Linked DNA regions of Homo sapiens: regions 1, 3, 4, 5, 6 and 7 are each linked to region 2. The links are contacts of gene promoters, found by promoter capture Hi-C in blood cells and fetal thymus (Javierre and others, 2016). All regions are on one chromosome and are shown on one strand. The core of a region is centred on a gene start or on the middle of the fragment in contact, and the rest is flanking DNA. Distances in the headings are between cores, read along the strand shown.

What was found. The method cuts DNA at HindIII sites, captures the fragments that hold promoters and counts their contacts. A CHiCAGO score of 5 or more calls a contact.
Region 1: a fragment that was not itself captured here is called in contact with the fragment with the promoter of KRT83 in region 2 in 4 of 17 cell types (M1 macrophages, erythroblasts, M2 macrophages and 1 more); the score reaches 7.1 in M1 macrophages.
Region 3: a contact is called between a fragment that was not itself captured here and the fragment with the promoter of KRT83 in region 2, in 2 of 17 cell types (naive CD8 T cells and naive CD4 T cells). The highest score is 6.1, in naive CD8 T cells.
Region 4: a contact is called between a fragment that was not itself captured here and the fragment with the promoter of KRT83 in region 2, in 1 of 17 cell types (M0 macrophages). The highest score is 5.7, in M0 macrophages.
Region 5: a fragment that was not itself captured here is called in contact with the fragment with the promoter of KRT83 in region 2 in 1 of 17 cell types (M0 macrophages); the score reaches 5.5 in M0 macrophages.
Region 6: a fragment that was not itself captured here is called in contact with the fragment with the promoter of KRT83 in region 2 in 3 of 17 cell types (endothelial precursors, fetal thymus and total CD8 T cells); the score reaches 6.2 in endothelial precursors.
Region 7: a contact is called between a fragment that was not itself captured here and the fragment with the promoter of KRT83 in region 2, in 7 of 17 cell types (M2 macrophages, M1 macrophages, naive CD8 T cells and 4 more). The highest score is 8.7, in M2 macrophages.

The regions. Positions count from the first base shown.
Region 1 is chr12:52,919,455-52,923,829 of GRCh38, forward strand. It overlaps a transcript of KRT8 not described here. Among named protein-coding and RNA genes, the nearest start is that of KRT8, 17 kb to the left of the region's middle. The HindIII fragment of the contact is 496 bases long and covers 1,843-2,338 here.
Region 2 is chr12:52,319,417-52,323,794 of GRCh38, forward strand. It overlaps KRT83 (keratin 83), which reads right to left and starts at 1,982. Exons shown (of 9, transcript NM_002282.3): 1 at 1,536-1,982. The coding sequence starts at 1,919. The HindIII fragment of the contact is 9,694 bases long and covers 1-2,179 here.
Region 3 is chr12:52,899,227-52,903,414 of GRCh38, forward strand. It overlaps KRT8 (keratin 8), which reads right to left. Exons shown (of 8, transcript NM_002273.4): 2 at 2,638-2,846; 3 at 1,933-1,993; 4 at 1,362-1,457; 5 at 549-839. Among named protein-coding and RNA genes, the nearest start is that of MIR9898, 2.3 kb to the left of the region's middle. RefSeq lists enhancers at 1-188, 2,207-3,051. The HindIII fragment of the contact is 1,303 bases long and covers 1,865-3,167 here.
Region 4 is chr12:52,940,495-52,944,407 of GRCh38, forward strand. It overlaps a transcript of KRT8 not described here. Among named protein-coding and RNA genes, the nearest start is that of KRT18, 6.7 kb to the right of the region's middle. RefSeq lists an enhancer at 3,261-3,855. The HindIII fragment of the contact is 3,648 bases long and covers 811-3,913 here.
Region 5 is chr12:52,986,500-52,990,649 of GRCh38, forward strand. No RefSeq gene overlaps it. Among named protein-coding and RNA genes, the nearest start is that of EIF4B, 18 kb to the right of the region's middle. The HindIII fragment of the contact is 7,088 bases long and covers 1-4,150 here.
Region 6 is chr12:52,857,859-52,861,697 of GRCh38, forward strand. No RefSeq gene overlaps it. Among named protein-coding and RNA genes, the nearest start is that of KRT78, 11 kb to the left of the region's middle. The HindIII fragment of the contact is 398 bases long and covers 1,872-2,269 here.
Region 7 is chr12:52,966,315-52,970,060 of GRCh38, forward strand. No RefSeq gene overlaps it. Among named protein-coding and RNA genes, the nearest start is that of KRT18, 19 kb to the left of the region's middle. The HindIII fragment of the contact is 7,174 bases long and covers 1-3,746 here.

The DNA.
Region 1 (4,375 bases), core at 841-3,340, 600 kb after region 2:
ACAGGGTTTCACCATGTTGACCAGGCTGGTCCCAAACTGCTGGCCCCAAGTGATCTGCTCGCCTCAGCCTCCCAAAGTGCTGGGATTACAGGTGTGAGCCACCATGCCCAGCCATGGCTTTCATTTTCAGGGTTCCTACCAAGTGTCAAAGTGTCAGATCTCTTACATATATTATATATTATTTTATTTTATTTTAGTCTATTTTATTTTGAGATGGAGTCTTGCTCTGTTGCCCAGGCTGGAGTGCAGTGGCACGATCTTGACTCACTGCAACCTCCACCTCCTGGGTTCTCAAGCTATTCTCCTGCCTCAGCCTCCCAAGTAGCTGGGACTAAAGACCTGCACCACCATGCCCGGATAATTTTAGTATTTTTAGTGAGACAGGGTTTCACCATGTAGGCCAGGCTAGTCTTGAACTCCTGACCTCAGGGGATCTGCCTGCCTTGGCCTCCCAAGGTGCTGGGATTACAGGCGTGAGCCACCGCACCTATTATTTATAATCCTAAACTAATCCATGAGGAAGGTAACATTGTTCTCATTTTACAGACAAGGAAACTAAAGCCCAAGGTCCTTTGGTTAGTGTGACAGAGACAGGAATTGAACCCAAGTCTGGAGTAATTTTAGAGCTTGAACATTCTCTTTTCAATTATGCTGTTTTATAGTCAGGATCCAATTATGTCCATTAAGAGATGTAATAATGTCAATAACTCAAAAGGGAGGATTCAAAACATGTTTATTATTTTATTTAGCAATCCAAAAGAGCTATATTACATTTATTTATTGAGCATCTGTACTACCTCTCCTACAGTAGGGATTCTGGCAGACTTGGGGGACCTCTCCCCATCAAAATGGACAGCCCCAGCCCAGGCACGGTGGCTCACGCCTGTAATCCCAGCACTTTGGGAGGCCAAGGCAGGCAGATCACCTGAGGTCAAGAGTTTGAGACCAGCCTGACCAACATGGAGAAACCCCATCTCTACTAAAAATACAAAATTAGCCAGGCATGGTGGCACATGCCTGTAATCCCAGCTACTTAAGAGGCTGAGGCAGGCGAATTGATTGAACCCAGGGGGCAGAGGTTGGGGTGAGCTGAGATTGTGCCATTGCACTCCAGCCTGGGCAACAAGAGCGAAACTCCATCTGAAAAAAAATTAAAAATGGACAGCCCCATGAGGGCAGAGACCTTGACTATGTTGTTGACCGTCACATCCACAGCATTAGAAAGACATCTAACAGGCACTCCACCAGTATATGATGAACGAATTCACAAATGGCTGAACCAGCCTGCCAGGTAAGCCTGTGCCCAGCCAGGCACAGTGGCTCACACCTGTAATCCCAGTACTTTGGAAGGCCAAGGGAAGATCACTTGAGGCCAGGAGTTCAAGACCAGCCTGGACAACCAGCGACATAGCAAGACCCTGCATGTGTGCATATATGTCTGTAAGACAGAAAATGAGACAGAGAGACTCTAGAGAGCACGCAGCTCAGCTAAAGAAAAGACCTGCTACCCACCACTCTGTAACCAACCTGCCCCCACCCCATTCCCTGGTCTCTAAGGACTAAGATAACCCCAACTCAGATACAATGACCCATTCATAGGCCTTTAGGAAAATCTGTTGACCTGGATGGTGGGAATGGGCTAAGCCCAGGCCAGCCCAGGCCAGCTTAGCCTCAGGGACCTGTTAGTCAAGTTCCCATGGCAACACAACTAATTGTGTGTTTATGCATTCCCTACAGAACTCCAGGCAGAGGCCATCTATTCCCCAAGGCCACATTCTACCTTCTCTCTCCTTCCTTGCCTCCCCAAGTTTCCTGGGTGACCATCCAGGGAACATTAAGAGAAGCTTAAGTAGCAACAGCAGCCTCCAGAACATGGAAGGCAAAGGAGGGAAAGCCTCTCTGAGGGAGAGGACCAGTACTTCTTGCTCACAATTGTCCAGCTGCAAAAGTCAAACTCCCTAGTCCTCCTCCTGGACCCACAGTTCTATGGCTTCGATGGCTCCCACATGTCACCACACTAAACCTCCACCCCCAGGCCCCCATGGCCTGACCCTATCCTACTTGACTGCCAGCTCCTGCACAAACTCCCTCTTCACTTATGCAGTGCACAGGCCCAGGGCCCCTCCTTCCTCTCTCTTTGTGTCCCTCTAGCCTGGCTCTACCCCCAAGGACTTCCTTCAGGAAGCCCTCCCAGATGGACTATTCCTCCCAGGCTTCTCCCTCCAGCCCTCCAGCCTGGAGCCTCTGATTGTGCATCCCCAGCTGTGGCCGGATCTCCCAGAGCTGGGCATGGGTTCAGCTATTCCCCCATGGCCTAGCAGTTTCCTTAAGGTGGTAAAGCTTTTAATTCTTACAGAAACTATAAAATAAGCATTATCTGCATTCTAGAGTGGAGAACACTGAGCCTCAGGATTAAAAGCAATGTGCACTGCTTGGCACAGTGGCTCACACCTGTAATCCCAGCACTTTGGAAGGCCAAAGTGGGAGGATGGCTTGAGGCTAGGAATTCAAGACCAGCCTGGACAACACAGCAAGACCCTGTCTATACCCCTCTCCCCCACAAAAAAATTGTTCTAATTATCCAGGCAGAGTGGTGCACACCTGTATTTCCAGCTACTTGGGAGGCTAAGCAAGAGGATAACTGGAGCCCAAGAGTTTGAGGCTGTAGTGTACCATAATTGCACCTGTGAGTAACAATGGCACTGGGTGACAGAGTGAGACCCTGTCTCTAAAAAAAAAAAAAAAAAAAAAAAAAAAAAAAAAAAAATGTAGCAAATGGGAGAGCCAGAACTGGACCCCGTCTGCCTCCAAAGCCATGTCTCTCCTCCCCACCTTATACCTCCCTCTCTCCCTGAAGACAGTACCATATGGCAGGCACTCCCTGTACCATAGGTTTTTATAACTGCATTTATTCCTCACAATTAAATCTATGAGGAGGCCAGGCACGGTGGCTCACGCCTGTAATCCTAACACTTTAGGAGGCTGAGGTGGGTGGATTACTTGAGCTCAGAAGTTCAAGGCCAGCCTGGCCAACATGGCGAAACCCCGTCTCTACTGAAAATACAAAAATTAGCCAGGCGTGGTGGCACATGCCTGTAATTCCAGCTACTCGGGAGGCTGAGGCAGGAGAATCGCTTGAACCCAGGAGGCAGACTTTGCAGTGAGCTGAATTTGTGTCACTGCACTCCAGCCTTGGCGACAGAGCAAGACTCTGTCTCAAAATAAATAAATAAACAAACCTATAAGGAAAGTACAAATAACCTCATTTTACAGATGAGGAGATGAAAGTTCAGAAACTTTCCATCTACTTCCTAAGTCATGTAGCATCTAAGTGCTAGGATCAGAATTCCACCCAGCTCTTCTGGCTCCAAAACCCAAAGTTTAGCTTCCCAGTCCCCTGGATCTAGGCAGACAGTCTGGGAGATGCAGGAGGCAGGAAGGCAGATTCTGCAGCCAGCATGAGAGCTTGAACTGATCGGCCAACACCTCTGATAAAGGAAGGTGCCTTCCAGAAGACCTCCAGGAGCTTCCCCGCTGATCTGGGGAAGCTCAGGAAGCCCAGGACAGCTGAGTGAGGGTTCCGTAGCCAGGCTCCCAGCTCTCTGCCCTCCCACTCGTCCTGTGAACTGACCCTCCCTCACATCATTGCACTTCTGCAAATTCCTACCACTACCTCCAAAGTGCTCTAGGATGTGTGATTAAAATCAAAGCGTTCTAAGGTTTATGATGAAAATTAAATGAAATTAAGTTAAATTTTTGTTTTGAGAATTGTTTTAGACTATTCCTAGAAGAATGTGCAGTAGCAGGAAAACATAAGTTTGGAAATCAAATAGCCTGTGTTCTAGTCTCAACTCGGTCTCTAAATTGCTGTGTGACATTGGACAAGTTACTGCTCCTCTCTGAGCTACAGTTGCCTCATCTATATAATGAAGGGGCAGGACCATTTATTCCTAAATTGTTTTGTTTTGTTTTGTTTTGTTTTTGAGATGGAGTCTCGCTGTGTTGCCCAGGTTGGAGTACAGTGGCTTAATCTCAGCTCACTGCAAGCTCTGCCTCCTGGGTTCACGCCATTCTCCTGCCTCAGCCTCCCGAGTAGCTGGGACTACAGGCGCCAGCCACCACGCCTGGCTAATTTTTGTATTTTTAGTAGAGACGGGATTTCACCTTGTTAGCCAGGATGGTCTCAATCTCCTGACCTCGTGATCCGCCCGCCTCGGCCTCCCAAAATACTGGGATTACAGGCGTGAGCCACCACGCCCGGCTCTAAATTATTTTTATTACTAATTATTAATTTTTGAAATTATTAAAATTACCTGTATTATTACATTTAAATTAATATGGATTTTAGAGCTTTGAATTGCCTAAAGTGCTTGCA
Region 2 (4,378 bases), core at 732-3,231:
AAGAGGGGTTCCCAGCACGAGGGCCTGAAAGCCCCCAACTCTCTGACCCAGAGTCTTCCCTGGAAGGCGTTATGTCATCTCTCTCAAAAATGCCACCAGGGCTTAACCAGTTCACCACCTGGAAGTTCTTCCTGGGAGTTAATCTCTTCTAAGTCAGTTTACCTGGTGTCATGGAAAATGCTTGAAGAGTCCAGATTCTGCTGCCACTTGTTAACATTGTGCCCTTGGATAAAGCACTCACCTCCTCTGTAGAGTGGCGAGGTTAAAGCTCACCTTACTATGAGGATTAAAAGAACCCTTTAACAGAAAGGCACCCCACACTGAACAGCTACTGCTGTTCAATCACACCAAGCCAGGTGGACCTTTTTAGAAAGGCAAACTGTAAAAGTTGAAAAATAAAGCATGTGCCAATTATTCAAACCCTACAACAACAATGCAATTAGAATAATAGTCACCTGCAATATGAGAGTAGGAATGTCCTGTGCTCCAACCCCCTTATTTTACTGATGAGGCCAAGGAGGTTCCCTGACTGCCTGAGAGCTCACAGTGGCAGAGAAGAGCTCAAACTCCGATCTTCTGCGCTGCAGGGGGTGTCTTCTCTCCCTTTGACAATTATAGGAACATCCCTCTCCCAGCGATGAGGTTGGCCCACTACTCCACTCAGCTTCTTTTGTCTAATAACTTGGCCACACCCTTGGTAGGTCCTATCTTATGCTATCCTTGGTCTCTCATGCTATTAGAAATTCCACATTTTTTTTTCCCGATCCTTTCTGGTGGGCATCTCTCTAGTGTGACTCCTCTCTTGAGGTTTTGGCTCTGGAGGGCTCTTTCCAACCCCAGAACATGTTCCTAGTCAGAGCCTTTTCTCCCAGTCTCTCACATCACTGCCACATGGTGGTTGCCTGGATTCAGTGGAGAAGGTGGCTGCAAACTCTAGTTGGACACTGACTACACAGATGGTTTCAACCAAACCCAGACTGTGCACTGCCTGCCTCCCCATAAAGCCTGTGAGGATGGGGACCATGACTCTTGCTCACCCCTGGATCCTGAGCCCCAGGAACAGTGGCTTGGACAAAATACTCTAGACCCTGCTCAGTGGCCAAATCACTGTGTGGTATAGAAAGAGTTCTGTGCCATCCACGAGACCCACTTCCAGACAGTTTTCCAGCACCACACTTATTAGCCCTGCCTTGATGGAGACAGCATCTCCTTGGCATTTAAGCAGTTATTTGGCTTCAAATGCCCTGAGCGCCCACACAGTGGTCCTTTGCTCACTAGGTGATATTATCACTCAGTGTGGAAGGCTCTGCCCCTCGTTCTGCTTTTGTGTTTTCAGTTAATCTCCCCCATCAGTCTGGTAGCTCCCGGTCCCATTTTTGTCTTTCTGTCTGTGTCCTAGAAGTATGACTACCTTTCCCTTTGGCCTGGGAACTTCTGTGGGCAAGTTCTTGCCTTTGACTTCCCTGTCAGTGCCCAGCCTGAGTTCTGAACATGAGTAGGGGTTCAGGAAGGGTGTGATCCAGGACGACACCCACCTTGTCGATGAAGGCCGCGAATCTGCTGTTGAGGGACTTGATCTGCTCCTTCTCCTCCTGCTTCACGCACTGCGCGTTGGGGTCTATCTCCAGGTTGAGGGGCGTGAGGAGGCTCTCGTTGACCGACACGGTGGTGATGCATGGGGGGCTGGGTCCGCACACGCCCCCGGAGCGGTAGCCGAAGCTGCGTCCGCAGGAGCCGGCGCGGAAGCCCCCGCACACGCTGTGGCTGCCAAAGCCCCCGGTGAGGCCGCGGTAGCAGGAGATGCCGCGGTAGGGGGCGGCGGTGATGCAGCAGCGGCTTGGCCGGGGCCCGCAGGCAGAGACACAGCTGAAGTTTCCAGGGCGGAACCCACAGCCTATGGAGTTGAAGCCACAGGTCATGACGGAGGTTAGGAGGTGTCTGAACAGTGGAGTAGATGGCAGAGGATGGAACCAAGGGCCTGTGCTCCCTGGCTGATGGCAGGCCCTTTTATGTGCCAGGGGCAGCTGGTGTTAAAAGAGGGAGCAAAGAGACAATAGCTGAATTTTATTGGCTTGGCATCACCCTGGCCTCTTAAGCTAGAACCCTGCTTGCCTCTTCAGTGTGGCTGCATCAACAATCCCTGGCCACGGGCCCTGTTTCATCTTCAAAGCCCTTTATAAGCTTCCTCCTTGCTCCTGCCCCTCCCACTGGCACTGCTGTGGAGCGGGGAGAGGGGTTCCTGAAAGCATTAGTTGCATTCTGCGGTCCAAGCGAGGGGAATGGGTGCAGTGACCTGGGGTAAAGCCTGCTCTCTGAACCCTGTTCTGAAAGGGGCAGAGCTAGGCTATGGGCCCTGGACCCATGGCCAAGCCCTGGGGTGGAGTGGCTGGCCTGTCCCAAGGAGGGGGCTGCCTCTGAGACAACCTCTTGCTGTAGGCTTTCCTGTCTTTTTCTCAAAGGCGGGTTCCTTTCCTCATTGTCAAGATTGGCCGCTCCTATCCTATTCCTGCTCAGAGCCTGGTCAAGGATGGGAGTGGGGGTAGAGATTTGGGGTGGGAGGAGGGCATGTTCTTTGCACTTTGGGTATTCCTAGTGCAGGGACACCATCTGGGACATGGAAGAAACTGATTCAGAGAGTTCAGGACAGTGCCAGGGCTATGCTTCAGAGTTCCAGGTGTCATTGCTGATGGGATCAGGAGCGGGGAGTGTGGAATACCTCAGAGCTCCAGGGACTCATGGAGGAGAGTGGGGACCTGGGCTTGAGGAGGATTGGGGTGGGGTAGTACAGGATTGAGAGATGACCAGAAAAGAGTCTGGCTCTGATTTGCAGACTAGACTATGTGTATTCATTTATTCATTTATTCATTTATTCATTTATTCAGGAAATACTTATTTGGTGCCCACCAACTATGCACTAGCCACTGTGCTAGGTTCTGGAAATCCTACAGAGACCTGGGGTGTTTGGAGGTAGCATGCATGTGGGGGAGCCAACATTTGGCTAGGGGGAAAGATGAGAAGCCACAGATGGGGGGAAGGCCCTCACAATGTCCAGGCTGATTGGTGTTCTTTAGGTTCCCAGCAGGGAAGCTCAGTGATGGGGTCTTGGGGTGTATGTACTCACCAGGAAGGAGGGAAGGTGCGGGAGGTGAGGGACATCAGCAGGGTCCTTAAATGAGATCACTCTCTCACCTCAGAGAACACACTGGGTGAGAGAAGGGTGCTAGCTCATGTGGCTGTTCCTAAAGCCAAGCTCTCTTACTTTGGGCCCTTGTTCCTTTGGGTTAGGACAGGCAATGGCTTTGATGGATGGACAGTCGGACCGAGCCAGGAGGTTTGCCTTAACCCGAGGACCTGAGCCCATCAACCCTTCCAAACACACATCTCTGGACTGCTTTCGTCAGGAGAGGATGAGGAGGACTCCACTGATGGACCTGTGTCCTGACCCAGCCACAACCCAACACTGACCCACTCTGGGCTAATAGTAACCCTCCTGTGACTCTCATCTTTTGCCCTTCCCACTCCCGCTCAGGATGAGTGGGCCAGTTATATCCCAGAGTGGGGATCTGGGGATGATGGAAGAGGGGCCCATCTTCTGTGGGCCTGAGGGAGGGCAGGCGATGGTGCTGTTGAAATCTCTTAGGGAGCTGGACATCTGCCATGGATCCAAAAAAAGGACTCTCCTAGCCTCTCTTCTTGGGTCCTGTGGACAGGCTTCCAGAGTCTTGTGTCTGGGGCAGGAACTCTGGGGGTGTGGGCTGTGTGATAGGGGATCCTGGTGTGAAAGACACACCAGGGAGGCACAGCCTGAGGGTACCTGGGGGGCCTGGGGGTGGCTGACTGCAGCTGAGTGGCTAGTGGGATTTTGGGAGCATCTTTGAGGGAGGCTGGGCTGGCTGGTGCTGTCATGTTCAGTCTTGGTTGGGTCAAACATCTGCTAGACAGCCAAGAAAGACCAGGCTCTTCACCCACCCACACTGGAACCAGTGAGCACCTGGAATGCTCTCCACACATATCCAATGATTATGGGGGATCTGTTTCTTGGTGAAATGCTGAGGACTGCAGGGCAGTGAACCCTCTGTGAAGCATTTCTCCATCACGATGCTGGAAACTGCGCTGCTGTCTTCTGACCTGGCTCATCTGTCTCAATCCAGCAGGCTTGGATCATGTTGGACCCCTCCACCGAGGGGCTCTGTGTAGACACATGACCTCCTTGGGATGGGGGAGCCATGACCATGCCCACCCCTGCCCTGATTGGCTCTGAAGATAGCATGGACCCTGGAGATAAAAAGACACAATTCGAAGCCCAACTATATCTCTTACTAGCTTTGTGCCATGGCACAGGCGTTTTCCCCCAGGGTCCTTACTTGTGAAATATAAA
Region 3 (4,188 bases), core at 1,266-3,765, 580 kb after region 2:
ATAGTGTGAACCCAGGAGGCGGAGCTTGCAGTGAGCCGAGATCACGCCACTGCACTCCAGCCTGGGCGACAGAGCAAGACTCTGTCTCAAAAATAAATAAATAAATAAACGAGACTAAGGAAGCAGATCAGGGAGACATGAGCAGTTTCCAGGTGCTTCCCCTCCACACCCTTCTCACCTGCGACACTGTAAGGTCCCCCTACCCTAACTGGACTAGATCCCTGGGTTCTAGACTTTCCTTAAAGCAGCAGAGCTCAACCTTACCCTGATGCATATGACTGATTAAAGCAGGCTTGGGAGCATGTATCACGAGCCCCAACATACCTGCCCCAGTCCCCTTTCACCTCTGTCCTGGCCCAAGGGACCTTCCCTGCATCCCTTTGCTTCTCAGAAGCAGACTGAGAAGCTGAACTGTGGCTGCCCCTCCAACTCCTGAACCCTGGTCTAGGATTCCTTCCCCGACTCCCAGAAACTTCACTCTTCCTACATTATCTCCTCTCACCAGGATGTGTCCAAGGAACCCCTCCCACCCCCAACCCGGCCCATACCTGGCCTTTGAGGCCCTCAATCTCAGCCTGGAGCCGGCTGATGTTCCGGTTCATCTCAGAGATCTCAGTCTTTGTGCGCCGCAGGTCATCCCCGTGCTTCCCAGCCAGGCTCTGCAGCTCCTCATACTTGATCTGGTACATGCTCTCAGCCTCAGCCCGGCTGCGGTTGGCAATATCCTCGTACTGTGCCTTGACCTCAGCAATGATGCTGTCCATGTCCAGGGAGCGGCTGTTGTCCATGGACAGCACCACAGATGTGTCCGAGATCTGGGACTGCAGCTCCCGGATCTCCTGTGGGGGAAGAGGGCAAGTGGTGAGGCCCTGTCTCTGCACACAGGGAGCCCCCTTTTCCACAACAGCCTTTCTTAGGGTATAAGACAGGGGCAGCAGAGGAGAGGAGCAGGTGGGAGTCAGGGTCAGGGAGAGGGCAAAGTTCCTGAAAAAGGAACTGGGTGCACCAATACTAGGTGCACAGAGGGATCCAATGCAGCTCAAAGATTAGGAACAAGGGCTTTGGGGACAGAGTTGCTGCTGAATCACCACACCCTATGATGACCTTGGATACGTTATTTCACTTCTCTGAGCCCACTTTCTCGTCTGTGAAATGGGGTAATGACTCATCCCTCATGCGAGGGACAGAACATATAGACCCAATAAATACTAGCCGAGCAAATATTGGTGGCTGTAATTAGTCAGCAGTGGGCCTTTGTCTTATTAGTGTGCTGGGGGCTGGGAGGAGCCTCTGGTTGAGTCTCAGGGTGGAGGCGCTGACAAGGCTGGGGGACCCTCACTCTCCTGCGACCAGGAACATACCTCTTCATATAGCTGCCTGAGGAAGTTGATCTCGTCGGTCAGCCCTTCCAGGCGAGACTCCAGCTCTACCTTGTTCATGTAAGCTTCATCCACATCCTGGGGGATGAGGAGAGGGGAGCCTGAGCTGGGTTTCCACACCCAACCCCAACCAAGGGGCTCCCAAGGTCCACCCAATGGCCTGGTCACAGGACTTTCTAGTTGCCCACTTTGTGGATTGATCTTCCAGCCCAGCCTCTGCCCATCACATGTGCATTCTCAGCCCACACACCTTCACCTCTGCTTCCTGCAACACACCCTCTTCCACCTCCTTCTCTAGGGAGCCTTCTAGAGCCAGATCTCCAGTTCTACTGCTCTGTTTTCTGAACCATGTCCCAACACCGATGTCAAGAGTTCTGTCCAAATGCACCTACCACTCCATCCTTGTCTACCTTTCTGTGCACCCAAATGTTTACATAAATGAGTTTGTCCCACTACTTAGGAATATTTAGGGACAAAACCCAGAAAGCTTCTTGGTCTGAGTCTCTGAGCCCCAGCCTCCAGTGTCCAGATAGGAGAAGGGAGACTCCCTCACCTTCTTGATGAGGACAAATTCGTTCTCCATCTCTGTACGCTTATTGATCTCATCCTCATACCTGTGAGGAAAAGACTTACAATTAGAGGATGAAGGCAAAAGGGAGGTTGCCCTTGGTCTTTTGGGAGACAGGGGCGTTGTGAAAATCAGGAAAATTCAGTTCACAGAGATGCAGGATATGAGAAGGCTGGTCCTTCTGCCTTCCCCAGCTGCCCTCTCCACCCTCACCCCTCCCTTAGCCCGTGGGAAGCAGGAAATCTCTCTCCAAATCCATGAATACACATCGGATTGGACACCTTGAGAGTGTTAACAGCAGGGCCTGACATGAGACCTCAGACAGAACTTTCTAGAGTTTGCTAGAGGTCAAGGGTCAAGACTAAAGAGGGGCCAGAATGTTAAGTACAAAAGTGAGGCCCACAGGCTGCCTATCTCTCCCGTCTCAGGTTTACCATGTCAACATTGACACATAATTTGTTCTTCAAATCCAGACAGTTGAGATTGAAAGGGGGTGGGTACTATCAACAATTGTGCTAGGAACCTGGGCATAAACACAGACTGTTCCGAGCAAACCTCATCAGGTGGTCACCCTAATTAGATAGGACTGCACTTCCCACAACAGAGGGCCATGGGGACTTAGTCCCAAGGTCCCAAGGGGTGGAGGAGAGCACGGTGACTTCAGTTGGGTGGAGGGTGGGAGTTGCTCACTTGTTCTTGAAGTCCTCCACCAGCCCCTGCATGTTGCCAAGCTCCGCCTCCAGCTTCAGCTTCTCCTGGCCCAGAGTCTCCAGCTGCCGCCTAAGGTTGTTGATGTAGCTCTCGAACATGTTGTCCATGTTGCTTCGAGCCGTCTTCTGCTGCTGCAGGAGGCTCCACTTGGTCTCCAGCATCTTGTTCTGCTGCTCCAGGAACCGTACCTATACGAAGGAGGAGAGAGCAAAAAGGTCTACATCAGGCCAGGGCTCAAAGTCTGGAGGAAAGCAAGCAGTCTTTTCTCTTAATTCACTCCTCAAGCAGTAAGGTCTCCAGACCCCAGGCACCTGGTTAGCTGTTCTGGAAAGATCACCTATGACCAGGGGGAGAAAGCATGGCATGATGGTGAGGTGGGGAGCAATGTCCCTCAGCATTGGGTAGGGGAAGGAGACAGGTAAGGTAATTATGTTAAAGCTGCATTTGCAAACCAATAGGCCTAACTTCATTTACATAGGTTGTATATTACACATCAATAAAAATAGCCAAGCTTTCTTTGGGAGTCTCCGGCGCCCAGGCTGGAGTGCAGTGGCAAGATCTCAGCTCACTGCAAGCTCCGCCTCCCAAGTTCATGCCATTCTCCTGCCCCTGCCTCAGCCTCCCGAGTAGCTGGGGCTACAGGCACCTGCCTGCCACCACGCCCCACTAATTTTTTTGTATTTTTAGTAGAGACAGGGTTTCACCGTCTTAGGCAGGATGGTCTCGAACTCCTGACCTTGTGATTGGCCCGCCTTGGCCTCCCAAAGTGCTGGGATTATAGGCGTAAGCCACCGCGCCCGGCCAAAAATAGCCAACCTTTCTAAAGATGTTAAGATTGAAAAAGAGGCCGGGCGTGGAGGCTCACGCTTGTAATCCCAGCACTTTGGGTGGCCAAGGCAGGCGGATTTCTTGAAGTCAGGAGTTCGAGACCAGCCTGGCCAACATATTGAAACCCTGTCCCTACAAATAATACAAAAATTAACCGGGCATGGTGGCACGCACTTGTAGTCCCAGCTACTCGGGAGGCTGAGGCAGGAGAATCGCTTGAACCCAGGAAGCGGAGGTTGCAGTGAGCTGAGATCACACCACTGCACTCCAGCCTGGGCGACAGAGTGAGACTCTGTCTCAAACAAACAAAAAAACTTGTAACTCCTTCTAAACTGGAGGGGACAGAAATCTTTTAAGGGTACAGCCTAGTTCCCTCCACCACTCTCTGCAAATCGCTTTCTTCCCCAGGTCATTCTGCCCCAAAATTATTTTTTAAAAAAAAGTGATTATAACATCTTATCCTAATGGAATGTGGGCCAAGCACTGCTGAACTCTTTACATATGTAAGTTTGAATAGGCAAAAACTTTTGCCTATATGGATTTAGGGGCTCTCATATTCATTTTATAGATGAGGAAATAAGACTTGGCAAGGGAGTCCATAACCAGGAACCGGCAGAGCAGTGCGAACCAAGAATTCAGATTCCAAAGCCTATGCTTAGCTGCTCTCTATAAGGACCCCAGGGCTAGCAAAACGCAGTCAAC
Region 4 (3,913 bases), core at 1,385-3,884, 620 kb after region 2:
ATTTTATACAACATTATGGAAAGGGAAAAGCTATGAGGACAGAGAACAGATCAGTGGTTACCATAGCTGGGGGTGTCGGGGAGGAGGTGTGGGGGTGAGCAATGAACTTGACTATAAAAGAACACAGTGGATTTTTTTTTTTTTTTTTTGAGACGAAGTCTCCCTCTGTGGCCCAGGCTGGAGTGCAGTTGCGCCATCTCAGCTCACTGCAACCTCCTCCTCCCAGGTTCAAGCAATTCTCTTGCCTCAGCCTCCTGAGTAGCTGGGACTACAGGCGCCCATCCCCATGCCCCGCTAATTTTTTTGTATTTTTAGTAGAGATGGGGTTTCACCATCTTGGCCAGGTTGGTCTTGAACTTCTGAACTCGTGATCCACCCGCCTCACCCTCCCAAAGTGCTGGGATTACAGGTGTGAGCCACCACACCCAGCCTGGAGCTTTTTGAAGGGATAAAAATTATGTATTTTGATTATGGTGGCATTTCCACAGCTGCATCCATTTGTCAAAACCCATCAAACTGTATACCTAAAAAGGGTGAATGCTACTGTAGGCAAATTGTGCATCAATACATTAATTTTTTTTTTTTTTTTGAGATGGAGTTTCACTCTTGTTGCCCAGGCTGGAGTGCAATGGCGCGATCTTGGCTCACCACAACCTCCGCCTCCTGGGTTCAAGCGAATCTCCTGCCTCAGCCTCCCGAGTAGCTGGGATTACAGGCATGTGCCACCACGCCCGTCTATAAATCTAAATGTTTTAAAACAAGAAAACCCACAGATGCAGGAAGATCATAGGCTCAGCCTTATATGTGAAAAGCTTAAGGTTTCCTTGAAACCTCCAATTAGGGATAATATCCACCAGCAGGAGATATGGTTCTGAGTCTCAGAGGAGGGGATTCTGGTGGATGCTATAAAAAGCCACGGTGCCAAGTGTTCTATCTGCGAAATCTTACCCTTAGCCCCCGGGCTCCTCTAGCAAGTTTTTGCTCTTTTTTTTTTTTTTTTTTTTTTTTTTTGAGACAGTGTTTCACTCTTGTTACCCAGGCTGGAGTGCAATGGCGTGATCTCAGCTCACCGCAACCTCCACCTCCTGGATTCAAGCAATTCTCCTACCTCAGCCTCCCGAGTAGCTGGAATTACAGGCATGTGCCACCACGCCCAGCTAATTTTGTATTTTTAGTAGAGACAGGGTTTCTCCATGTTGGTCAGGCTGGTCTCGAACTCCCAACCTCAGGTGATCCGCCCGCCTCAGCCTCCCAAAATACTGGGATTACAGGTGTGAGCCACCGTGCCTGGCTTTTTACTCACTTTTTGAAGCCCTGTCTGAGCATTCATTTGACCTCCGTGAAGTTCTCCATGACCCCAGTCCTTCAGCACGTAGAACGCAAGCTCCATGAAAGCAGCAACCTTGTGGCTTTTCTGTGCTGTATTCTCAGATCCTAGACCATGCTGGCATTAGGTGCCTTACAAAGCGTTAATGAATTAATGAATTCTTCCTTTCTCTGACAGTCCTCTGGAGCTTGTCATAGCACCAATCACACTGTATTTTGTTTGTCCAATGATCTGTTCCCTCTAATAATAATCTCCTTGATTATTATTGTCTAGTTGTATTTATCTTTGTATTCCCAGGTCACTATTGGTGGAAGTGAACTAAACCGACAGCCTTAAAGCTCCATGTTGATGATTCTTCCAGGAGGAGGAGGCACACTTAACAAGCACCTGCTCCGCCCCAGGCCCTATCATACATGCTTAATCTCTGCAACAAACCGATAAGGAAGCTGGAGATCAGAGAAGCTCGCCGACTTGGGCACCCAACTTAGGCACCCAACTTGACCAAGGTCACCTAGCAAGGAAACAAGCAGAGCTGGGATTCAAACTGAGATCTGTCCAACTCCAAAATCTTGTTTCTCCATCCTCTCTTTTCCCAAAGATTCTTAACCCCATGATTTTCAGTGCCTTCAGCACCCTGAAGTGACATCACCAGCTGCTCTGACCCCAGATTCTGATACTCTCTCTCACCTTCCCCATCTCACGCTCCTGTGCTTTCTCTGCAGCTTCCAACTGCCGTGCCACCTCAGTCCCGGGCTTCCTCCTTTTCCACTAAACTCTTCTGTTTGCCTTTGCTTCCCCACCCAAGGCCCAGCCCTTTCAGCCATGTTTTAAGGCTTCTTTGTCCCTGAGCTTCCACCTCTCCTGCCTTCTCATCCCTCAGTGAAGCCCACCATTTTTTCTCTCCCACCCCCAGGATACGCAGTGTTTCTTGTGTGGCTGGTCTCATCATGAAGCCATGTTGTGTAACTGCTGTTGGGATCTCAAGACCACTGACTCACCTTCTTATGCCTCATGGTTAGAACACAGAGTTCACCTAATGTGCCACGGTGTCCTCCTGCCTCTGCCACACGCTTCTGATTGGGGAGGAAGGAGCCTAGAGAGGTTACACACAACACATCCCAGCTCTGCCACCTACTAGGATATCACTTTTCAGGTTGCAGCTTAAATGTCACTCCACTCCCCCAGAATCTCAAGCAGGATTAGTGTTTACTGATTTGGGCTTCCATTGTTCCCTGGACTCACCCAGGCATAGCACCAACCACACTTTAGTGCTATTGCTTGTTTAATTACTGATCAGCTTTACTAAACTGTCTCATCCTAAGGCAACCGTCCATCAGTTCTGCGACCTAACAACCGCTTGGCCTCCCGATTTCTCCTGTCCGTCGCTGATAAACTGCTTGAAAGAAAAGTCTACATTTTGCCTCCACTTGGTCCTCTCTCTCCTCCCTCTCAGTCCACACCCCGGCTCCAGGCTCCATCGCTCTACTGAAAGTGCTCTTTTTGTCCTCAGCCTCCCTGATCCTTTTGTGCACCTGGCCCTGTGGGCCCCCCTTCCTTGAACCTCATTCTTCTTGGCTTTCATGACGTCCTCTCTCCTGGTCTCTTCCTGGGAACTTAGAGATCTAGGCCTTCTCCTCTTTCTCCTCTTCTCCCTCTGTCTCTTCCTCTTCTTCTTGCCTCAAGTCCCTCTGTGCTGACTCTGCTCCTTCTTTTCCCTGATCCTTTCCCTTAGGCCACCTCACCCACAACTGGGTTTCACCCAAATCCTTGAGGGGGATGCTCCAGGTGGGCCCGTTGCACGTGGCCGTGCAGGGTGTTCAGTGTACAGGCACACCCTGCCAGGAAACAAGGAAGAGGCTCCCTCTCTGCAATTTGTGTAAAGGCCCCGCAGGTTAGCTGTGACCCTGGCATCCATACCTCCTGCCCCATGCCTCTCCCAAGCTCCAGCCCTGCTCTCCTAGCTGCTCACAGGATAGTTCCCTAAACACTGCTGGCAGAACCTGCCCAGCCTAGGCCAGGAAAGAGGCTGACAGAGACAGAGCCGGCTGACTGGATGATCTGGAGATAGGTTCTTGGCCACTCTGTTCTTCCATTTCACCCCCCTTTTCAAAGACTCAGTCTTAGCCACCCTGCCCTGAGCCCATGTTAGATGGAAAAAAATAGTGGTGAGCAGGGAGCAGAAGGCTGGAGAGTAGTAAGTGCAAAAGAACAAGGGGGCTGGGAAGAAAAGGAGCAAATGGGGCAAAGCAGACAGGAGGGGAGGTCAGCTGGCTTCTCAGCTGCCAAAGCTCTTCCAGGCACGTCATCTCATTTGGTCCTCATGAAAACTCTCTAAGTGGATATTACTATTTTTCTCATTCTACAGCTGAGGAGAGACCAAGCTAGTAAAGGCTGCTCAAGATCACTAAGCCAGCAGTGGGGAATATTGTGAAATATTGAAATATTTTATTATTTCATAGAGACAGGGTCTTGTTATACTGCCCAGGCTGGTCTCAAATTCCTGGCCATAAGCGATTCTCCCACCTCAACCTCTCAAAGTGCTGGGATTACAGGCATGAGCCACCTGGCCGAATCCAGGTCTTTTGA
Region 5 (4,150 bases), core at 1,548-4,047, 670 kb after region 2:
TAATTCTCCAATCAAGCAGCCTGTACTTATTGAATACCTAACATACCTAATACCTAAATATTGTGCTAGATGGCAAAATACAAAAGAATGCTAAGACCAAGTCTTTGCTGGAAAAATTTTAAAAGATCTTAAAATGAGCTAAAGATTACTGGGTACCTTTTTAGTGGAATGCTGGGCTTTGTATAGAGAACTTTCAGTGTTATTTGATTTTGTAGTGGTCTGTGTCTTTGTGTTTTTTTGTTGTTTCTTTCTCATTTTATAAAAATAGTTTGTTTCAAAGACTCAATTGTCCTTCAACTTCTTTTTTTTTTTTCTTTTTTCTTTTTCAGACGGAGTTTTACTCTTGTTACCCAGGCTGCAGTGCAATGGCGTGGTCTAGGCTCACTGCAACCTCCACCTCCCAGGTTCAAGAGATTCTCCTGCCTCAGCCTCCCAAGTAGCTGGGATTACAGGCGCCCATCACCATGCCTGGCTAATTTTTGTATTTTTAGTAGAGACAGGGTTTCACCATGTTGGCCAGGCTGGTCTCGAACTCCTGACCTCAGGTGATCTGCTCACCTTGGCCTCCCAAAGTACTAGGATTACAGGCATGAGCCACTGCACCCAGCCCCTTCAACTTCTTATTTTTGGATATACCAAGAATATAATCAATGTGCTCAATATAATTTTTGACTGCTTTTGACTAGACTCTTATAGCTCTGTAAGTTTAAAAAAAAAAAAAACTGATGGTAGGCCAGGTGCAGTGGCTCATGCCTATAATCCCAGCATTTTGGGAGGCTGAGGCGGGTGGATCACCTGAGGTCAGGAGTTCAAGACCAGCCTGGCCAACATGGTGAAACCCCATCTCTACTAAAAATACAAAAATTAGCTGGGCGTGGAGATGCACAGCTGTAACCCCACTTACTCAGGAGGCTGAGGCAGGAGAATCGCTTGAACCCAGCAGGCAGAGGGTGCAGTGAGCCAAGATTGCACCACTGCACTCTAGCCTGGGCGACAGAGCAAGACTCTGTCTCAAATTAAAAAAAAAAAAAAAAATTAGCTGGGCATGGTGGCAGATGCCTGTAATCCCAGCTACTTGGGAGGCTGAAGCAGGAGAGTTGCTTGAACCCGGGAGGCGGAGGTTGTAGTGAGCCGAGATCGTGCCCCTACACTCCAGTCTGGGTGACAGAGTGAGACTCCATCTCAGGAAAAAAAAAAAAAAAAAAAAAAAGAAAGAGAAGAAAGAAAGGGAGGAAGGAAGGAAAGAAAAAGGGAAAGAAAAAAAGAAAGAAAGAAATGTTTGTAGGTTGGGCGCAGTGGCTCACGCCTGTAATCCCAGCACTTTGGGAGGCCATGGTGGGCAGATCATGAGGTCAGGAGTTCGAGACCAGCCTGGCCAACATGGTGAAACCCCGTCTCTACTAAAACTACAAAAATTAGCCAGGTGTGGTGGCGGGTGCCTGTAGTCCCAGCTACCCGGGAGGCTGAGGCAGGAGAATCGCTTGAACCCAGGAGGCGGAGGTTGCAGTGAGCCAAGATCGTGCCACTGCACTCCGGCCTGGGCAACAGAGCGAGACTCCATCAAAAAAAAATACAAAAATACAAAAATTAGCTAAGCATGGTGGTACATGCCTGTAATCCCAGCTACTTGGGAGACTGAGGCAGGAGAATTACTTGAACCCAGGAAGCGGAGGTTGCAGTGAGCTGAGATCATGCCATTGCACTCCAGCCTGGGTGACAAGAGCGAAACTGTGTCTCAGAAAAAAAAAAAGAAAGAAAGAGATGTTTGTTGTTGGCCGGGCGCGGTGGCTCACGCCTGTAATCCCAGCACTTTTGGAGGCCGAGGTGAGTGGATCACCTGAGATCACCTGAGGTCAGGAGTTCGAGAGTAGCCTGGCAAACCTGGTGAAACCCCGTCTAAAAATATAAAAATGAGCCAGGTGTGGTGGTGGGTCCCTGTAGTCCCAGCTACTCCGGAGGGCTGAGGCAGGAGAATTGCTTGAACCTGGGAAGTGGAGGTTGCAGTGAGTCGAGATTGCACCAGCCACTGCACTCCAGCCTGGGCGACAGAGTGAGACTCCGTCTCAAAAACAAAAAAGAAATGTTTGTTGTTTAAGCCACCCTGTCTATAGTAATTTGTTACAGCAGAACTGACTAAGACAGACACAAGATCAAGGTGGGAGAAAGTGTAACTTGACCCAGCTCTGTGATGAGTTTATCCATAGCTCCTTCCTCTATTACATTTACCTTTGATTTGTCTATTAGATAATACTCCACTATTTATATATTCATTACTCATTTATCCACAGATATACAATAAAAACATTAATCAGGTGAATTACTTTCTTATCAATACCTGCCAAGAAAATACAACTAACTATAAATTTGTAATAAACTCCCAAGGGGCAGAGGTTGGGTTTTTAGTTGCTTCTCAAACATACCCCATCATTCAAAAGTCTGAACTGGAAAGTAAGAAGGAAAAGAAGGAGAACTTTAGTATGCTAGTGTCAAACAAGCCTGTCCTAATAAGCAACCCCAAACTGCTCTCCTGTCTGGGTCCAGAATTGGGTTTGGTTTTGAAATACCACGTGGGAAATTTCTAGCCAAAGTCCTCACCAGTTCCTCCTTTGACTAACAATCTCCAACCCAGGAAGTGGGAACTACAGAGTCTTTGGTAGAGGTGGTTGGATTTACTCAAGAAAAAGCCCCACCTGAACTCCCCAAGCAGAAATCTTCATTAGAAAAATAAACAAAACGACCGGGCGTGGTGGCTCATGCCTGTAATCCCAGCACTCTGGGAGGCCGAGGCAGGCGGATCACGAAGTCAAGAGATCGAGACCATCCTGGCCAACATGGTGAAACCCCATCTCCACTAAGAATACAAAAATTAGCTGGGCGTGGTGGCACACGCCTGTAGTTCCAGCTACTCAGGAGGCTGAGGCAGGAGAATTGCTTGAACCCGGGAGGCAGAGGTTGCAGTGAGCTGAGATCACACCACTGCACTCCAGCCCAGTGACAGAGCAAGACTCTGTCTCAAAAAAAAAAAAAAAAGTAGAAGAACATTAAAAAAACAGGTTTAGGCTGGGTGCAGTGGCTCACACCTGTAATCCCAGCACTCTGAGAGACCAAGGCAGAAGGATCACTTGAGGCCAGGAGTTTGAGATCAGCCTGGGCAACATAGCAAGACACCCATCTATACAAAAAATTTTAGAAGTTAACTGGGTGTGGTGGTGCATGCCTGTAGTCCAGCTACTCAGGAGGCTGAGGCAGGAGGATTGCTTGAGCCCAGGAGTTCAAGGTTGCAGTAAGCCATGATTGCACCACTGCACCCTAGTGTGGGCAACAGAGCAAGACTCTGACTCTAAAAAACAACAAAAACTGCTGGACGTGGTGGCTCATGCCTGTAATCCCAGCACTTTAGGAGGACGAGGTAAGTGGATCACCTGAGGTCAGGAGTTTGTGACCAGCCTGACCAACATGGCGAAACCCCATTGCTACTAGAAATACAAAAATTAGCCAGGCATGGTGGTACACACCTGTAGTCTCAGCTACTCAGGAGGCTGAGGCAGGAGAATTGCTTGAACCCAGGAGGTGGAGGTTGCAGTGAGCCAAGGTCGCACCACTTCACCTCAGCCTGGGCAACAGAGCGAGACTCCGTCTCAAAAAAAAAACACACACACACACACACACAAAAACAAACAACAAAAAAAAACCAAAACAGAAATGAGGTTTACATGTTACAAGGCCCTGAAGAAGAGGAAAAAAACTGTGTATAAAATACCACCTGGATAAAATAAGCCAAATACACAACTAAATGGGAGACCAGGCCAACAGGATGTCTTGGGAAGATGTCTTGAAGTAGGAGGGGCTTCTCCTGCAAAGGATTTGGCAAGACTAAGAGGGAGCAGGCATTCCAGATGAAGAGAATGATGAGTAACATGGAAAAGCCCAGCGTCCGCTCCGGGCCAGGCAGAAGTTGAGGTGACAGATATAGTAGGAAAAGCAAGCTGAGGGCAGTTCATGCAGAGCTTTCAATGCTGGAGAGTAGGGCCTTGGAAAGAGATGTGGTGACACAGTAAGAGCGCTCTTTCAGGGAGATTTATCCAGGAACTATGTGCTAGGTGGATGGGCGGAGATGAACTCAAGTGGGACAATTCCTGAAGCAGCACAG
Region 6 (3,839 bases), core at 821-3,320, 540 kb after region 2:
TTCAAAAAAAACATAACTATTAAGATGTATGACATTTGGCCGGGCGCGGTGGCTCACGCCTGTAATCCCAACACTTTGGGAGGCCAAGGTGCGTGGATCACCTGAGGTCGGGAGTTCAAGACCAGTCTGACCAACATGGAGAAACCCCATCTCTACTAAAAATACAAAACTAGCCAGGCATGGTGGCGCATGCCTGTAATCCCAGCTCCTCGGGAGGCTGAGGCAAGAGAATTGCTTGAACCTGGGAGGCGGAGGTTGTGGCGAGCAGAGATCATGCCATTGCAATCCAGCCTGGGCAACAGAGTGAAACTCCATCTCAAAATAAAAAAAAGGCCTGGCGCGGTGGCTCATGCCTGTAATCCCAGCACTTTGGGAGGCCGAGGAGGGCAGATCACCTGAGGTCAGGAGTTCGAGACCAGCCTGACCAACATGGAGAAACCCCATCTCTACTAAAAACAAATACAAAATTAGCATGCCTGTAATCCCACCTACTAGCGAGGCTGAGGCAGGAGAATCGCTTGAACCCGGGAGGCAGAGTTTGCAGTGAGCCAAGATCACGCCATTGCACTCCAGCCTGGGCAACAAGAGCAAAACTCCATCTCAAAAAAAAAAAAAAAAATGTAAGTCGTTTTTCTTTGTGCCATCTGAGTCCATCTTGTGTTTCTTCAGTGGCTTACACAGTACCCTTGAGTACTCTCTACTAAAAACCCTTGAGGAAGGGCTCTAAGTTCCTCCAAAGCCAGGAAGGGCAAAGATGAATGTGGCTATTCCCTGACTTCTAGCACCAATCTTGGCCTGTCAGGCAAGAGAGAAAGGAGGGAGCAGATTACAGAGTGCACCCCTTCTCTACCCCATACCCAGGCAGAGCACACTCTTGCATTCTCTGCCCCGGTACCCTCCTGCCTGCTGGGCTGCAGCAGGTAGCCCCCGCTCCCCTCACTGAACTGGCAGTGAAGGAAAGTGGCACCCACCCAGGCAATGGGTTCACTGCAACAGGGAAAGGGTGCCCCACAGGTAAGCCAAGCTGCTGCCTCTGCAGCTCCCCCATGCCCAGGTAGAGAGGCCCCGAAACCTACAAGGAGGGCATTCCTAAGGCAGAAACCCTGGAGAGAAAGGATTAGCAAAACATTGCCTGGGAGTCCAGAACTGAAGTATATGTCTCCAAGTTCCAAGTTGAGGGTGGGAGTGAGGGATGATGCCAAACTTTGGAATAATAATGGCCCTTTTACCCATGGTGGCTAACATGATCATGTTCTACAACACACTTTAAAAAATACTATTGGGGGCCGGGCGCAGTGGTTCACGTCTGTTATCCCAGCACTTTGGGAGGCCAAAGAGGGCAGATCACTTGAGACCAGGAGTTCAAGACCAGCATGGCAAACATGGTGAAACCCCATCTCTACTAAAAACACAAAATTAGCTGGGTGTGATGGCGCATACCTCTAATCCCAGCTATTCAGGAGGCTGAGGCAGGAGAATCACTCGAACCCCAGAGGTGGAGGTTGCAGTGAGCAGAGATCACGCCACTGCACTCCAGCCTGGGCAACAGAGTGAGACTCCATCTCAAATAAATAAATAAATAAAAATACTATTGAGAACTCTCTGAGTGCCAATCACTGTGCTGGGCCTGTGCAGATCCTTCATCTTCTTTTATCTTCACCACAATCTGAGATGTGGGTATTATTTTTCCTTGCTCTACAGACACAGAAATAAAGCAATTGTCCAAGATCTCAAAGATGGAAAGAGGCCAAGTTAGGATGAAAACCCAGATCTTCTAAACATACACCGCCCCAATAGTCTTCCCAGGAACACTGTACAGCCTTCATGTAGTATGTATATGTACATGTTTCCTGTATAACAAAGAGACCAGAAGCTTCCCTGGTGCTGGGGGCTATGGGGAGAGCCCAAGGGAGAGGACACCCGCTCCCACTCTGCTGCAACACACAGCACTCTGCTCAGGGATGGGGCAGTGGCGTGTTATTGTTACACAAGGGGCTCTCTGTCAGGGAGGGAAGATAAGTCTGTTCTGTAGTGTTTGCCATTTTCCGTGGTGCAAATATTCCATGGCTGATTTCAAGCTGCCACCATGATGTCACTGAATGCAGAGCTGGGAAGAGATGCACACAATCAGGTCTCCTGAGTTTGCTCAAGCAGGCCCAGCACACCATGGGCCAGGGGTGAAGAAAGGGAGACTGTCCCAGGCTGGGAGTCAGGAACACACATCCAGGAACAAACTGCTGGTGCCTGAGAGAGGAAGGGGATTGGACAAAGCTTCCAACTCTGGGGGACCCTGAGAGGGGAAGAGGGAAGTGTTCAGACAAGAACTTGAGTTGAGAGTCCAGACACACCCATCCAGGGCTTAGTACCCAGCCACTGCAACCCTGACCCAATCAGGTTCAGCCAGTTGGGTGCCCTGCTGCTAGCAACAGCTCCTGATTTGGCAAATATTATGAGGCCTGTTACTAAGGACAGCCTCCCAATACCCCAGAGGGTGAAGAGCAACTTCCAGGGGAAAGTTGCCAAGATTCTTACACCCTGAGGATGTTCAGTCGAAGCTGCAGCAGGAACTCCCGGACTGGGAGACAGGGTGGGGGATTACATGGACCAGCTCCCTCCCACTCAACCATCTCGCCAGCATCTCTCCCATGGCCATCTGAGTGCTGTGCCCTGGGTGTTGGAAGTAAGGTTCTGCCCGTCTTCAAGGAACTTCCATCTGAGAGGAGATCTGTATTTTCAAAACTGCAAGCTACAACCCACTAGTGGATTGTGAAATCAATTGCATGAGTCTTTACCAGCACATGAGTGTGCATCACAGGTAGTAAGGGTAATATTGCACCATGAAATTTTGTTTGGGGTGTGTGTGTGTGTGCGCGCATGCAGAACTGTAATATAAAATGAATTTATTATTAGAGATCACTGTTCAAAAAAAGTTTCAGAAATTCCCTGACAGAGGAAGTGGTACCCACACCCAAACACACACAAACCCAAGAAAATAAGACCAGAAACAGGAGCAGCGTTAGGTGTCAGGACTTGGGGATAGAACATAGAGGTTTAGTCTGGGAAACTTTTCCAAAGGAGAGAAGTAATGAAAAGCAGAGTTAGAAAAGGGAAACAAGAAACTGAGGCATCTCTCCCAATCTATCCTGGAAGGGAGAGGAAATTCTCTTAATATCTAATCTAATCCCTAAACCCGCTGATGTGCTCTTCCCTGAAGCCCACCTACTCCTCAAAAGGAAAACCCACAGGTCCCTCCTCCAGGTAACCACCTTTTCTGGGTCATGACAGTGACACAGCTGGTCGGGGCTAGGGAGGGTGGAGTGAGCTGGGCTCGGGGGCACAAACAGCGGCATGCTGGGCACAGCCAGGCAGGAGGGCCCAGCGCTGCAGGTGCTGGGGCAACACAGAACAATACCAGATTCATGCCTGCCCTTGGGAAACGTAGACTCTAGTTAAGAAGACCAAAGTAGGCTGGGCATGGTGGCTCACGCCTGTAATACCAGCACTTTGGGAGGCCAAGGTGAACCGATCACGAGGTCAGGAGTTCGAGACCAGCCTGACCAACATGGCGAAAGCCCATCTCTACTAAAAATACAAAAATTAGCCAGGTGTGGTGGCACATGCCTGTAGTCCCAGCTACTTGGGAGGCTGAGGCAGGAGAATTGCTTGAACTCGGGAGGCGGAGGTTGCGTGAGCCAAGATTGCGCCATTGCACTCCAGCCTGGGTGACAGAGCAAGACTCTGTCTCAAAAAAAAAAAAAAGACCAAAGTAACACACACCTAGAGCAAGCCAACAGCAAAAGCATCCCACAGGGGCGTAACACTTGCCAGTGCAGAATGGC
Region 7 (3,746 bases), core at 998-3,497, 650 kb after region 2:
ATTAGCCTGCCTTGGTGGTGCGCACCTGTTATCCCAGCAACTCGGGAGGCTGAGGCAGGAGGACTGCTTGAGACCAGGGGTTGAAAAACAGGCTGGGCAACAAAGTAAGACTCCATCTCTACAAAAAATTTTAAAATTCACCTGGCGTGGTCGCGTGTGCCTTTGGTCCCAGCTACACAAGGGGCCCAGACGGGAGGATTGCCTGAGCCCCAGAGGTTGAGGCTGCAGTGACCCATGTTTGCACCACTGCACTCCAGCCTGGGTGACAGAGTGAGATCTTGTCACAAAGATAAATAAATAAATAAGTAGAATGCAGAGCAATGAAACCCTCATATGTTGCTGGTGGGAATACAAAACGTGTACAACTACTTTGGAAAACAGTTGGGCCGTTTTTTCTAAGTTTAAAAATACACCTCCCAGCGCGGTGGCTCACGCCTGTAATCCCAACACTTTGGGAGGCTGAGGCGGGCGGATCACGAGGTCACGAGTTCAAGACCAGCCTGGCCAATATGGTGAAACCCTGTCTCTACTAAAAATACAAAAAAAAAAAAAAAATAGCCAGGCGTGGTGGCATGCGCCTGTATTCCCAGCTACTTGGGAGGTTGAGGCAGAAGAATTGCTTGAACCTGGGAGGCGGAGTTTGCAGTGAGCTGAAATCTTGCCATTGCACTCCAGCCTTGGGCAACAGAGCAAGACTCTGTCTCAAAAAAAATAGTAATAAAAATAAAAATATACTTACCAGCTCGGTGTGGTGGCTCACACCTCTGATCCCAGCACTTTGGGAGGCCGAGGTGGGTGGATCACCTGAGGTCAAGAGTTCGAGACCAGCCTGACCAACATAGAGAAACCCCGTCTCTACTAAAAATACAAAATTAGCCAGGCGTGGTGGTGCATGCCTGTAATCCTAGCTACTTGGGAGGCTGAGGCAAAAGAATCACCTGAACCCGGGAGGCGGAGGTTGCAGTGAGCCAAGTTTGTGCCATTGCACTCCAGCCTGGGTGACAAGAGTGAAACTCCATTCTCAAAAAAATAAATAAATAAAATAAAATAAATAAACAGATGGTTCAAGTTTGGCCTCTCCCAGTAGGAATCCTCTTTGTGGCCTTCCTAACATCTGGCCTCCGTTTGAAGAATTTATGACAGTATAGCCCCTGTTGGATAATAATTGTATAATTACTGGAACATTATTGTTCCTTCTACTGGGCTGAAATCTGCCTCCTACTAACCTTCTAAACTCAGCTCTGCCCACTAGAGTTACACAGAACTCCCTCTTCCATTAGATTTCAGCCATAAGTGATTATTCTTCCCCTAACCTGTATAAAAGCAGCCCCAGTCACGGTGTAAGGATTTAGCTGCACTGCTGGCCTCAACCTCACCTGCCTGAATGAGCTGGAAAATAATTATCTACACAGAAACAGCCCAAGGAATTAGAATGATAGTGATGCTCAGATCCGGGGAGGCTGTGTCCCCCTGAAGGCCCTGGTCAGATCCTGGTGAAGTGGATGGTGCTGCCACAGGAGGGATGTAGGGTAAACTTCTCAGAGACTCAGGGCACTCCAGTGATCTGGGCCCAAAGCACACAGTTCCTTTTCCTCTCCCCACAATCCACACTGGAGCAGCAGGCTCTAGTGGGCCCCTCCCAGGCTGGCAGAACTTTCCCTATCACCCACTCCCCAGAAGCAAAAAAAGTTTAAAAAGCACCAGCCTAAGGCTGGGTGCAGTGGCTCATGCCTGTAATCCCAGCACTTTGGAAGGCTGAGGCGGGCAGATCACAAGGACAGGAGTTCAAGACGTGCCTGACCAACATGGTAAAACCCCGTCTCTACTAAAAATACAAAAATTAGCCAGGCATGGTGGTGCATGCCTGTAATCCCAGCTACTCGGGAGGCTGAGGCAGGGGAATTGCTTGAACCCGAGAGGCAGAGGTTGCAGTGAGCCAAGATCATGCCATTGCACTCCAGCCTGGGCAATGGAGCAAGACTCCGTCTCAAAAAAAATAAATTATTGTACATTTAAAAATAACTAAAAGAGTATAATTGGATTGTTTGTAACATAAAGGATAAATGCTTGAAGTGATGGATGCCCTGATGAGATTATTATGCATTGTATGCCTGTATCAAAATATCTCGTGTACCCTAAAATAGATACACATACTGGGTACCCACAAAAATTAAAAACTTTTTTTTTTTTGAGACAGAGTTTCACTCTTGTTGCCCAGGCTGGAGTGCACTGGCTCAATCTCGGCTCACTGCAACCTCCGCCTCCCAGGTTCAAGTGATTCTCCTGCCTCAGTCTTCCGAGTAGTTGGGATTACAGGCGCCCACCACCACACCTGGCTAATTTTTTTTTTTTTTTTTTTTTTTTGGATTTGGAGTAGAGACGGGGTTTCGCCATGTTGGCCAGACTGGTCTCGAACTCCTAACCTCAGGTGATCCACCTGCCTCGGCCTCCCAAAGCGCTGGGATTACAGGCATGAGCCACCAGACTCAGCCAAAATTAAAAACTTTAAAAAATAAATTAATAACCACAGCAGTAGCTAGTAGCTAATGGCTACCAGATTGGACAGGACAGTGCAGCACCAGACTGTAAGCTCCCTTTGAGCAGAGACTGGACTATCTTGTTCACTCTTATGCCCTGATACATAACACAATTCCAACACATAAACAGCAGGTTGTTATTTTCTTTTTTAAAGACAAAAATTTGAAATTGTAATTTTTATTAAATTGTAAATAAAATGTTATTTTATTTTATTTAATAACCTATAGCATTTGCCAATATCCAAGGTATAAATACTGCTGTCATGGTTGATTTAAAATGGTTTAATTCTGGGAAGCAAAATTTTCAAATTTAACAATCTTCTCTTACTAGCTTTTGAATGAATAAGCAAATGAATGAACAAATAAATGAGCAAATAACAAACCAAGAGGAGTCTCTGCATGCCTCACCCAAGGAAAAGAGGACAAAGGAGAGTAGAAGAATATTTCAAGATGCCAGCAGTCCTCTCACTCTCTTTGCAGGTCCTCTTTGTTCCAGGAAAGAGAACTTAGTGGGAGAACAATTGAACTTCCTCAGCTTCGCTTCACACACACCCCAGCTTTAAGAAAGCCCAGGAAGAATTTGTTTTTTTTTTTTTTTTTGAGACGGAGTCTTACTCTGTCACCCAGGCTGGAGTGTAGTGGCGTGGTCTCGGCTTCTCAGCTCACTGCAACCTCCACCTCCCAGATTCAAGCGATTCTCCCGCCTCAGCCTCTCCAGTAGCTGGGATTACAGGTGTGCACCACCACGCCCAGCTAATTTTCGTATTTTTAGTAGAGACAAGGATTTCACCACGTTGGCCAAGCTGGTCTCAAACGCCTGACCTCAAATGATCCACCTACCTCGGCCTCCCAAAGTTCTGGGATTACAGACATGAGCCACCTCACCTAGCCTTTGGATTACAGACATGAGCCACCTCGCCTAGCCTTTTTTTCTTTTTAAGGAAAAAAAGAAAAATAAAATCTCATCTTAATCTGCTCCATTTTTTTTTCTTTTTAAAGAAACTTTCCCAAGTCACTTAAACAGTCTTCGTAATGGGAAGGCACTCAAACTATAAATCTCCCTGTCATTTAGGAATGCTCAGTGCAAATGTTTATAGAACCCGGGCACCACTTTCAACCTCTCCTTTGAAGAAGGGCTTTGTAATCCTCCTCTGGGGTCACTCCTACATTCCAAAAATGTTCAGGAAAGGAAGGGAAGGTGCCCACCAG